3 separate regions of the Homo sapiens genome follow, and regions 2 and 3 are each linked to region 1. Evidence: promoter capture Hi-C in 16 types of primary human blood cells and fetal thymus (Javierre and others, 2016). All regions are on one chromosome and are shown on one strand. Each heading gives the region's core, a stretch centred on a gene start or on the middle of the fragment in contact. The rest is flanking DNA. Distances are from core to core; before and after follow the strand shown.

What was found. Contacts are between HindIII fragments. The CHiCAGO score rates a contact against its expected background, and 5 or more counts as called.
Region 2: a contact is called between a fragment that was not itself captured here and the fragment with the promoter of ZNF223 in region 1, in 1 of 17 cell types (total CD4 T cells). The highest score is 5.5, in total CD4 T cells.
Region 3: a contact is called between a fragment that was not itself captured here and the fragment with the promoter of ZNF223 in region 1, in 1 of 17 cell types (total CD4 T cells). The highest score is 5.4, in total CD4 T cells.

What each region holds. Positions count from the first base shown.
Region 1 is chr19:44,050,356-44,053,728 of GRCh38, forward strand. ZNF223 (zinc finger protein 223) reads left to right here and starts at 1,681. Exons shown (of 5, transcript NM_013361.6): 1 at 1,681-1,840. RefSeq lists enhancers at 1,347-1,848, 1,668-1,907 and a silencer at 1,568-1,627. The HindIII fragment of the contact is 18,414 bases long and covers 1-3,373 here.
Region 2 is chr19:37,179,311-37,182,683 of GRCh38, forward strand. It overlaps ZNF585B (zinc finger protein 585B), which reads right to left. Exons shown (of 5, transcript NM_152279.4): 5 at 2,269-3,373. Among named protein-coding and RNA genes, the nearest start is that of ZNF585A, 8.3 kb to the left of the region's middle. The HindIII fragment of the contact is 2,530 bases long and covers 638-3,167 here.
Region 3 is chr19:37,454,782-37,458,154 of GRCh38, forward strand. All of the region lies in intron 2 of ZNF569 (zinc finger protein 569), which reads right to left. Among named protein-coding and RNA genes, the nearest start is that of ZNF569, 11 kb to the right of the region's middle. The HindIII fragment of the contact is 609 bases long and covers 1,178-1,786 here.

The DNA.
Region 1 (3,373 bases), core at 431-2,930:
TAAATGTAGCTTTTCCATGAGGACACAGCTTCTCCATTGGTGGCTGGAATTTTGTTTTTCCTGTCAAACCAGTGGTACCACAGCATCTGGACTAGGGCTGTAACTGAGAACCACCATTTTTCTAAGAGACAGCTTATTTATTTCTCTCTCTTTTCTCATTCCCTTAGTTCCCCACTTCCTATGTAGCCCTTTAAAAATGCAAATATAGACTTTTACCTCCCCTTCACCAGACACTTCCTACAGGGAAAGTTCATCTAACTGTGTGCTCCAAGCCAGAACTCTCCTCCAGAATTAACAGTCAATTTACAAACTAAAGCATGCTGGCCTCTGAACTCTCACTCACCAGGAGGTTGCCTGAAGAGACAACAGTTGAAAGCGTGCCTGCTACTCTCTCCCTTCTGGTTACAACTTATTTCTGCCCATGAAAAAGCCAGCTCAACTGCCTAATAGATAAGGCACCAAGCCAGCACACAGACCCCTTCCCTCTTCCTCCCCTACCTTTTAAAAGTGCCTGCTTTCTGCTCTAAAAGCCAAGCCGTGCACTTAAAGACAACACCTGTGCTACTTCCCCTACGCTAGCTCTAGAATAAATCACTTTCTTTATACCAGATCTCCCTCTTGTTAACTGGACGTTGCAAACGGGAAGCCACTGATCTACTTTTCAGTTACAGGGGCTGATGCTTTCCTGGCTTCTCATTGCCCCTCCCAACCCATTCTACCTGGCTCATTCTTTAAACCAGTGGTCCCCAACCGTTTTAGCACCATGGACCGGTTTTGTGGAAGACAATTTTTCCACGGACTGGGGAATGGTTTCGGGATGAAACTGTTCCACCTCAGCCATTAGATTCTCATAAGGAGCGCCTGACCTAGATCCTTCGCACGCACAGTTCACAATAGGATCCGCGCTCCTATGAGAATGTAATGCTGGGCTGATCTCACAGGAGGTGGAGCTCAGGCCATAATGCTCCCTCACCTGCCGCTCACTTCCTGCTGTGCCGCCCGGTTCCTAACAGTCAGTGGACCGGTACAGGTCTGTGGCCCTGGAGTTGGATATCCTTGCTTTAAACCCTGAGCCTCCTTTCAGCCATCTGACGGCTCAACAGTCACTCTATCTAGCTCCTTGAATATTGTATCTCCTCGCTTGTTCCCTGTCCAAGAACACTCCTGTCAATCATGGGAGACATTTAGACTTCATAAATTCTTTCTATTCAATATTTTCGCTCGAGGACTCTGGGAAGGACAACTGTCAGGGTAACAGTCTGCATTCCCCACCAGGAACCTGGGGCTATGAAATTCGTTCCCCGTGGGTGTTGCGGGAAGTGTAATCGAGGAGCACCATGTAGTCGCAACACTTGAGCCTAAAGGGTGAGGTGATGGACATTTTCCTTTTGCATCTGAGGCTCTGCAGTCCAGACACCTTGCGGGATTCCTGATACTTCAGCTCAGGTAGGCGTTTCCGGAGAATTCTGGGAAGAGTAGTCCATTTTACGGGAAGTGTAGTCCACTGGCTCGTGGAACACTGGGTATTTTGGCTCTGGCAGGTGAACCGTTGAATTCTGGGAACGATAGTCCAGACACTCTGCGGAGTCCCGGGCCCTTTGGCTCAGGGGGGCGGGTCCGGGGAATTCTGGGGAGTGGAGTCCAGACACTCTGGCGCAGAGAGGACACTTCCGGTCTCCTAGTCTGAGGTTCCTGCTTTAATGACCGGGGTAGTTTGAGCCATTTCTGCGTCTTGCAGGACATTTTGAACGAACCCCCTTTGCTTGAGGCTCGCAACCACCCGATGATCGATGATCGTCTCAGGGGAAAAGAAGCCTTGGCGAAGAGCAGAGGTTTAGAGGTGCGAGGGCGGGGAGGGTGTTTATTGTTCCCGTCAGCGGAGCCTTCTGGCGTCGGGGGGCTTTGCTCGCCTCCCGGGGGGTGGGATTGGGGTGGCCTTGTGTGCCCTGCTCTGAGGGTTTCCAGGACTTTGACCTCGCTCAGTCCGCCTCCCTACGTATGCAGTGTGTACACTCTTTCTCGCAGTGTGATGTGGAATGTTAATGTCTCTGTACTTCCCATTGCTGTTCTTTAAAATGGTGCTTATAGGGTCATCCTAATAGAATTGTTTTGCGAATTGAAAGAGATAATACAAATGAAAGCCTTAAAGTTGTCCCTGTCACTTGGTGAGTGGTCTCTTGTTGCCTGATATTTTAAAACGTTTGATATCATTTCAAAGCTATAGAAAAATTGCAAAAACAGTATAAGAAATTCTCATATACCCTTTACCCAAATTTGCCAAGTGTTTACATTTTTCCTGTTTGCTTTGTTGATGACCATCAACCAAATACCACCAGGAACATACCTGTAACCAGAGACAGCTGATTGGTAGCTTTCTGCAGCAAGGAAGCCCACATACCACGGTAATTGTGGGGTGTCTTGGTAAGAGGCATTTAGGAAGGGCTGGTTATAGGGTTTCACATAACATGGTAGATAATATTGGATATTATGTTAAATAATACTGTTACCGATTACATGTCAGATAGATGTGTTAAAAGAATACTAGTATTTGTAGTGTACTTACTAGATAGTGTTGGATAGCATATTACCTAGCATCATGTTATCTAATCTGCAGTTCCATATACGAATTTGTTAAATTTTTCATTTAAAGTCCTTATGACTGTCCTCTGCCCCACCCTTCACCTATTCAAAGTCCAGTTTATGCGTTGTCTTTAGCTGTCACATTTCCATAGTTGTTCATTTGGAGTTTGATATTGAAGGGGGCCTGCCTCTCCACACCTGTGGGTGTTTCTCACAAGGTGGAAATGAGAAACTGAGAAAAGAAATAAGACACAGACACAAAGTATAGAGGAAGAAAAGTGGGCCCAGGGGACCGGCGCTCAGCAAATGAGGACCTGTACCGGCACTGGTCTCTGAGTTCCCTCAGTATTTATTGATCACTATCTCTACTATCTTGGTGAGGGGGATGTGGAAGGACTATAGGGTAATGGTGGGGAGAGGGTCAGCCGGAAAACATGTGAGCAAAGGACTCTGTCATAAATAAGTTTAAGGAAAGGAGTTGTGCCTGGATGTGCACATAGGCCAGATTTATGTGTGACTTTACACAAACATCTCAGTGCAGTAAAGACCAGTATTGCCGCCAGTATGTCTCACCTCCAGCCATAAGGCGGTTTTCTCCTATCTCAGTAAATAGAATGTACGATTGGGTTTTATACCGAGACATTCCATTCCCAGGGATGAGCAGGAGACAGATGCCTTCCTCTTACCTCAACTGCAAAGAGGCCTTCCTCTTTCACTAATCCTCCTCAGCACAGACCCCTTATGGGTGTCGGGCTGGGGGACGGTCAGGTCTTTCCCTTCCCACGAGGCCATC
Region 2 (3,373 bases), core at 653-3,152, 6.9 Mb before region 1:
ACTGTGACCAAGAGGAGGCTGAGTTGGGAGACCTTGTGGAATGCCAGGGAAGGATGTAGGTAGGATACTTGGGAGGAGGGTAGCAGGGTGGTTGGGCACCACCCGCACATGGAATTAGGGCTGGGATATGCTGAAGCATGGGGTGGGGCATTAGATTTTGAATTAGAGGACCTGGAACCAACCCTACCACCTCCCACGCATTTAGCCAATGTGTGTGGGGCATTTGGTCAATGTCAATACTATTGTTATTATTCATCCGTTCATTCGTTTGTTCATTCATTAACACATTTAACAAGCTTGTACTGAATGTCTGCTTTGTGCTGGCACCATGTTGGGTGCCTTGGACACAGCAGAAACAAGACAGACCAAGTCCAGGTCTCATGAGGTCTAGTGGAAAGGTTGGATGAAAAACCAAAAAAAAAGAAATATTTAATATCAAATCAGATGGTGATGCCTGCAACACAAATATATACAAAATAATACAGCAGAAAGTGACCCCAATGGATGTGTTACTTCAGATACAAATGGTGGGGTGGATGCTTTTCAAAGATGGGGGAAGAAAGCAAGATGCATGGGCACTGGGGAAGCAGTGTATGCCCAGAGAACACAGTTGGTGCAAAAGCCCAAAGCTGGAGAAAGCTTCCTTGGTGCTAAATCAGCCAGAATTGGGATTCTTGACAAACAATAAAAATATTGACCACCTCCAACTGCAGGCTGTCTGAACCCTATGACCCGTTATTATAGTTATAACTTTATACTATAAACATTAAATGTGATTATGTAAAAGTAGAAATAACTAAAATGTTACATGAAAGTTTGATATATAAAATATAAAAATTATATAATCATACGATACTATATATTATATAAAATGGAAACTATTTTGTAGTAGGTATAATATCATAATGTGCTATAACATACTGTCAACACAATATACAGTGTATGATATGCACACATAAAATAAAATACATAAATCTATATTTATAATCTAGTATCTAATAATTTTTCAAATGTCATTTAAACTATCACATAGTAAAATAAAAGAGTACTTCTGAGATTCATCCATGTTGCAGCCAGTGTCAATAAATCACTTCTTTTCATGTTGGGGTAGTATTCTATTGTATAGATGTTTAATTAGTCACCCACTGTTTAATTAGTCACCCACTGTTACATTTGGGTTGTTTCCTAATTTTGGCAATTATACAGTTGCTGTGAAATTTGAGTACCCGTGTTTTTATATAAACAATTTTTCACTTATCTAGGGCAAATACCTAGGAGAGGGATTGGTGGGTCATATGATAAGTGTATGTTTAACAGTATAAGAAGCTGTCAAGGCTGGGCATGGTGGCTCACGCCTGTAATCCCAGCATTTTGGGAGGCTGAGGCGGGCAGATCACCTGAGACCAGGAGTTCGAGACCAGCCTGACCAACATGGAGAGACCCTTAACTAAACCTCTACTAAAAACATATAAAATTAGCCAGGCGTGGTGGTGCATGCCTGTAATCCCAGCTACTTGGGCGGCTGATGCACGAGAAACGCTTGAACCTGGGAGGTGGAGGTTGTGGGGAGCCGAGATCATGCCATTGCACTTCAGCCTGAGCAATAAGAGCAAAACTTCATCTCAAAAAAAAAAAAAAAAGCTGCCAAACTTTTTGCCCAAAGTGAATGTAACATTTTACATTTCTACCAACAATGCATGAAAGTTTCCATTGCTCTGCATTGTTGCCAACTCTCAGCATTATGTCTTTATTTTTAGGCATGCTAAAAGGTGTGTACAGGTATCTCATTGTGGTTTTCATTTTCATTTTCTTGAAAATTAAAGATGTCGAGCATCTTTTCATCACCTTATTTTCCATTTTTATCTCATATAACAATATGGATAGATCGCAAATACATCACATTAAATGAAACAAGTCCGACTCAAAAAGAGAGATACATACACATATATAAACAGACAGAGACACACACAGGATGTCTCCATTTATACAACATGTGGAAAAGGCAAAATTATACAGACAGAAAATGGGCTTGTGATCATCAAGGCCTGGGGGTGGGCAAAGGGATGGACTAAAAAGTAATAGGAGGAAATGTAGGGAAGTGAGGGAACTGTTCTCTGTCTTGACTGTGGTATTGACTGCATGATGTAATTGTCAAAACTTTGAGAATTCCACACTAAAAAGGGTGAATATTACTGTATGTAAATTATACCTCAATAAATACGACCTTAAAATATTACAGTCATGTTCACACAAAAACCTGCACACAGGTGTTTATAGCATCTTTATTCATAATCAACAAAACTTGGAAGCAATTAAGGTGTCCTTCAGTAGGTGAATGGATAAATAAGTCATGGTACTTCCAGACAATAGCATATTATTCAATGAGAAAAAAAAAAAAAAAAGAGCTAGCAAGCTACGAAAAGACATGGAAGAAACTTAAATCCACATTACTAAGTGAAACAAATCAATCTGAAAAGGCTGCATACTTTATGGTTCAGAGGCAAAATTATGGAGACAAAAGAAAATAGCCAGGAGTTTAGAGGAGTAGGCGAAACACAGAGGATTATTGGGACAGTGAAACGGCTCTTTATCCTTCTGTAATAATGCATACATGTCATTATTCATTTGTCTCAACCCACAGAATGCACATCAAGACTGAACCCTAATTAAACCATGGACTTTGGCCGATAGTGTCAATGTAGTTTCATCAATTGTAACAAATGTACCACTCTGAAGGGGGATGTTGATGATGGGGGAGGCTGTGTATATGTGAGGGTAGGGGATATATGGGAAATCTCTGTACCTTCTGCCCCATTTTGCTGTGAACCTAAAATTTCTCTAAAAACTAGTCTTTTATATAAATGGGCATACATATACATATATATGTCAGCACTAAAATATCACGTTACAATAAATATAAAGGAGAAATTATTGAAAGTCATGTACAGTGAAATGTGTTTTCCTCCATATTTCCTGGAATTCATGAGGAGTGATACACTTAGGAGTAAGGTAAAATGGGAATAATGAAGGGGACCAGACCTTGTTCTAGGGTATGTTAGGAAGGAAGAGGTGATCTCCAGGCACCCTCCTGAGAGTCAGCTGACATTGTCCTAAGTTGGGGATAATGTTGTATCACAAAATATCCAAAACTGAAGGAAGAATAGTGAAGCTTCAGATACAGTGCTGGATGAGGTGAAGGGAGGTAATGGGTGAGCAGACATTGGTCTAAGATGTTGAGCAGCATGTGATGGGCCATCAGATACTGTGAAGAAGTGAGGAAGCAGAGCTAATGATGGCTCAGTAGACATTGATCTAAGGTGAGGTAATGGGATGTGTCACCAAGCACTGCCCAACTAGGGCTTGGGAATTAAAG
Region 3 (3,373 bases), core at 232-2,731, 6.6 Mb before region 1:
ACATTCACACTTTAAAAATTTGTTTAAAAACTTGATAGCTGTATTTTCTTACTGGCTTATATGGTGTCTGGCAGAGTCCATCCCAGGTAAGTAAAGCTTGAGTCCTGTTTCTCTCAGCTGGCATCTTTCTTTCCCCAGATTTAAGATTACTTGGTTGCCCTGTGACCTCAGTTCTCTGAAGGGTCCTAGAAAAATTATTTTGTAGTTTGTCCATTTCCTTGTTGTACGGTAGAAGTTTGTAGTTTCCTTGTTGTAATGATTGAAGCAAAGTTCTTTCCAGCTGTTTACATCCCTAAGGAGAAACCCAAAGTCCCCTCATTACAATAAACTTTTGAGAAGTCCTTCAGTTTATTTTGTCATGGGGCTCAAAAATACCTTGCAAATAAAGTTAGGATTAGGATAACAGTTTAAAGTCAAGTAAATTAGCTAGGATGGAGTGGGAGTGGGAAAGCATTACAAGCAAAGCAGTAGCAATTGGTAAGGCCTCAGAAAAGACGGAATTCAGTATACTGGAGGAACTCAACTTTAAGCTAATTGAGGAAATACTTTAGAAATAAATTCACAAACTAAATGTTATATTCATAACAAATGTTATTTTTCTTTCCACTGCAAAGAACTTACTTCCAGCCATATCAATTTGTTTAGTTTCTGGACTATCATGCATGATTCCCTCCTGAAATGAGCTCTGATACAGTTAAAATGCTTACAGCAACTGCCATATCTACATAATAATATATATTTTTTAACACTCCACTTGCTTGAATCCACGTTTTGCCAAAAACCTAAAACTCATTGAAAGCTCTACACCTGGCAGCATCTCTCAAGGCAGAAATTCTCTAGTTAGCGTGAACTAACTCACAGACTGGGGATATGGCTCTGTGGTGGACAACAGTATTTTCTCCCCCACCCCCAACTCTTTCCTAGTCTTCTCTCCACTATTTCCATGTGTCCCCGGATTCCAGGTCCTACCACACCACTTTGCAACACATGTTTAAATCACAAGGGAAAAGGGCCAATGACACATGAAAGAAGGATATAAGGGCTGGACCCACTTATATAAGGGCACCCACTGATGGCTGGAAGAACAGCATTAAACTCTGTGGGTACCGCTCTATCTGGGATCTAAAGTTGCCAAAGCCAGTTGCAACTACAGGAATCAAAAATTTAATTTCTCAAAAGCTTCTTTACTTTGTTTTCTCTTTAATTTGGTTGGCATGTTTGAAAACATTTTTATTCTACTCTCATACTCAAATAATAATTTGGCTAACTGTAGGCTTCTCAGAAAAACAGTTTTTCCTTAGAAATTTAAAGCAATGTGACTTCACTTTGTGGCTCCAGTGACTTCTAGTGTTGCTGTACATTGACATTCTACTTCTAGATCATTCCAACTTTTTTTTTCCTCTGTAGAAAGTTTTTGGCCTTTCTTCTCTCTTATTGGTTTCCGATAGTTGGTGTGGGTTTTTCTCATTAATCGCACTGAGCTTTTGGTCAGTATATATCACGGACATACGGTCATTTCAATCCGTATATTTATTGTTCTCTTCTAGGAAATTTTCTTGCACGTTTTTGTTTTCATTTTCTCTACTTTCTCTTACGTATAATTCCTAAGAATAGGATGATCTATCCCTTAAACTGATCATCTAAGTGTCTTATATTTTATCTCTTAACATTTCTACTTCTCTCTTAGGGCCCGTATGTTTGAGAAGGAAGCTCCCACTTATGTTAGTTAAACATTAAGTCACAGAGCTCTCCATTAAGAAAACTTTTTCTTTAGACAGGGAGTTGAAGCTTCATAAAACAGTTTAACTGCCTCCTACTTTCCTTCCCTCTAGTTCACTCTAAACATACTTGTATGTATACATTCTAGAAATTTTCTTCCAAAATTTATTACTTTTAAAAACTCGAGGCCAGGCACAGTGGCTCACACCTGTAATCCCAGCACTTTGGGAGGCTGAGGTGGGCGGATCACAAGGTCAGGAGTTCGAGATTGGCCTCGCCAACATAGTGAAACCTCACCTCTCCTAAAAATACAAAAAATTAGCTGGGCATGGTGGCAGGCGCCTGTAATCCTAGCTACTCAGGAGGCTGAGGCAGGAGAATCGCTTGAACCCAGGAGGCGGAGGTTGCAGTGAGTCTAGATCGCGCCATTGCACTCCAGCCTGGGCAACAGAGGGAGACACCGTCTCAAAAAAAAAAAAACAAAAAACAAAAAACACAAAACTCAAACTACAAAAATGTTGGAAGATCAGTACAAAGAATACTTCTAAAACCCTTAATCTATATTCAGCATTGCCACATTTTTCTACCTCTCTTTCCTTCTCTAAAAACATATACACAAACTTCACGTTAACTCTTTCAGAATGTACCTCCAAAAACTAAGAAGCCTCCTACATAAACACAATGCCATTATCACACCAAAGATATTAAACATTCGTACAATAAAATATATTATCTCTATACTTCCCTAGTTGTCGCAACAATATCCTTTAAAACCAATTTTAAAATAAATTGAGGATTTAATCGAGAATTCTATACTTATAAAATGCATCTTAAGTAACACTCCCCTGTTTAAACTTCTTTTTTTCCCCTTGCCCAAAATTTACTGGCTTATGGTAACAGAGAAACTGAGGTATGTGGAAATATGAAAGAAAAAGAGAGTGATGGAATGTGGAATTGGTATATAATGTTTAAGAATAAACAAAATAACCATGGAATACTATGCAACCATAAAAAGGATAAGTTCATGTCCTTTGTAGGGACATGGATGAAGCTGGAAACCATCATTCTGAGCAAACTATCGCAAGGACAGAAAACCAAACACCACATGTTCTCACTCATGGATGGGAACTGAACAATGAGAACACTTGGACACAGGATGGGGAACATCACACACTGGGGCCTGTCATGGGGTTGGGGGAGGGGGGAGGGATAGCATTAGGAGATATACCTAATGTGAATGACGAGTTAATGGGTGCAGCACACGAACATGGGACATGTATACATATGTAACAAACCTGCATGTTGTGCACATGTACCCTAGAACTTAAAGTATTAAAAAAAAGAATAAACAAAATAAAACTGGAAAATCTTAGATATTTTTATATTCTTTTTTTTTGGAGACAGAGTCTCGCTCTGTTGCCCAAGCTGGAGGAGCGCATGGCTCGCTGCAGGCTTCATCTCCGAGATTCAAGTGATTCTCCCATCTCAGCCTCCCAAGTAGCTGGGACCACAGGCATGCACAACCATGCCTGGTTAATTTTGATATTTTTGGTAAAGATGGGGTTTTGCCATGTTGCCCAGGCTGGTCTTGAACACTTGGGCTCAAGTGATCTGCCCACCTTGGCCTCCCAAAGTGCTAGGATTATAGGCCTGA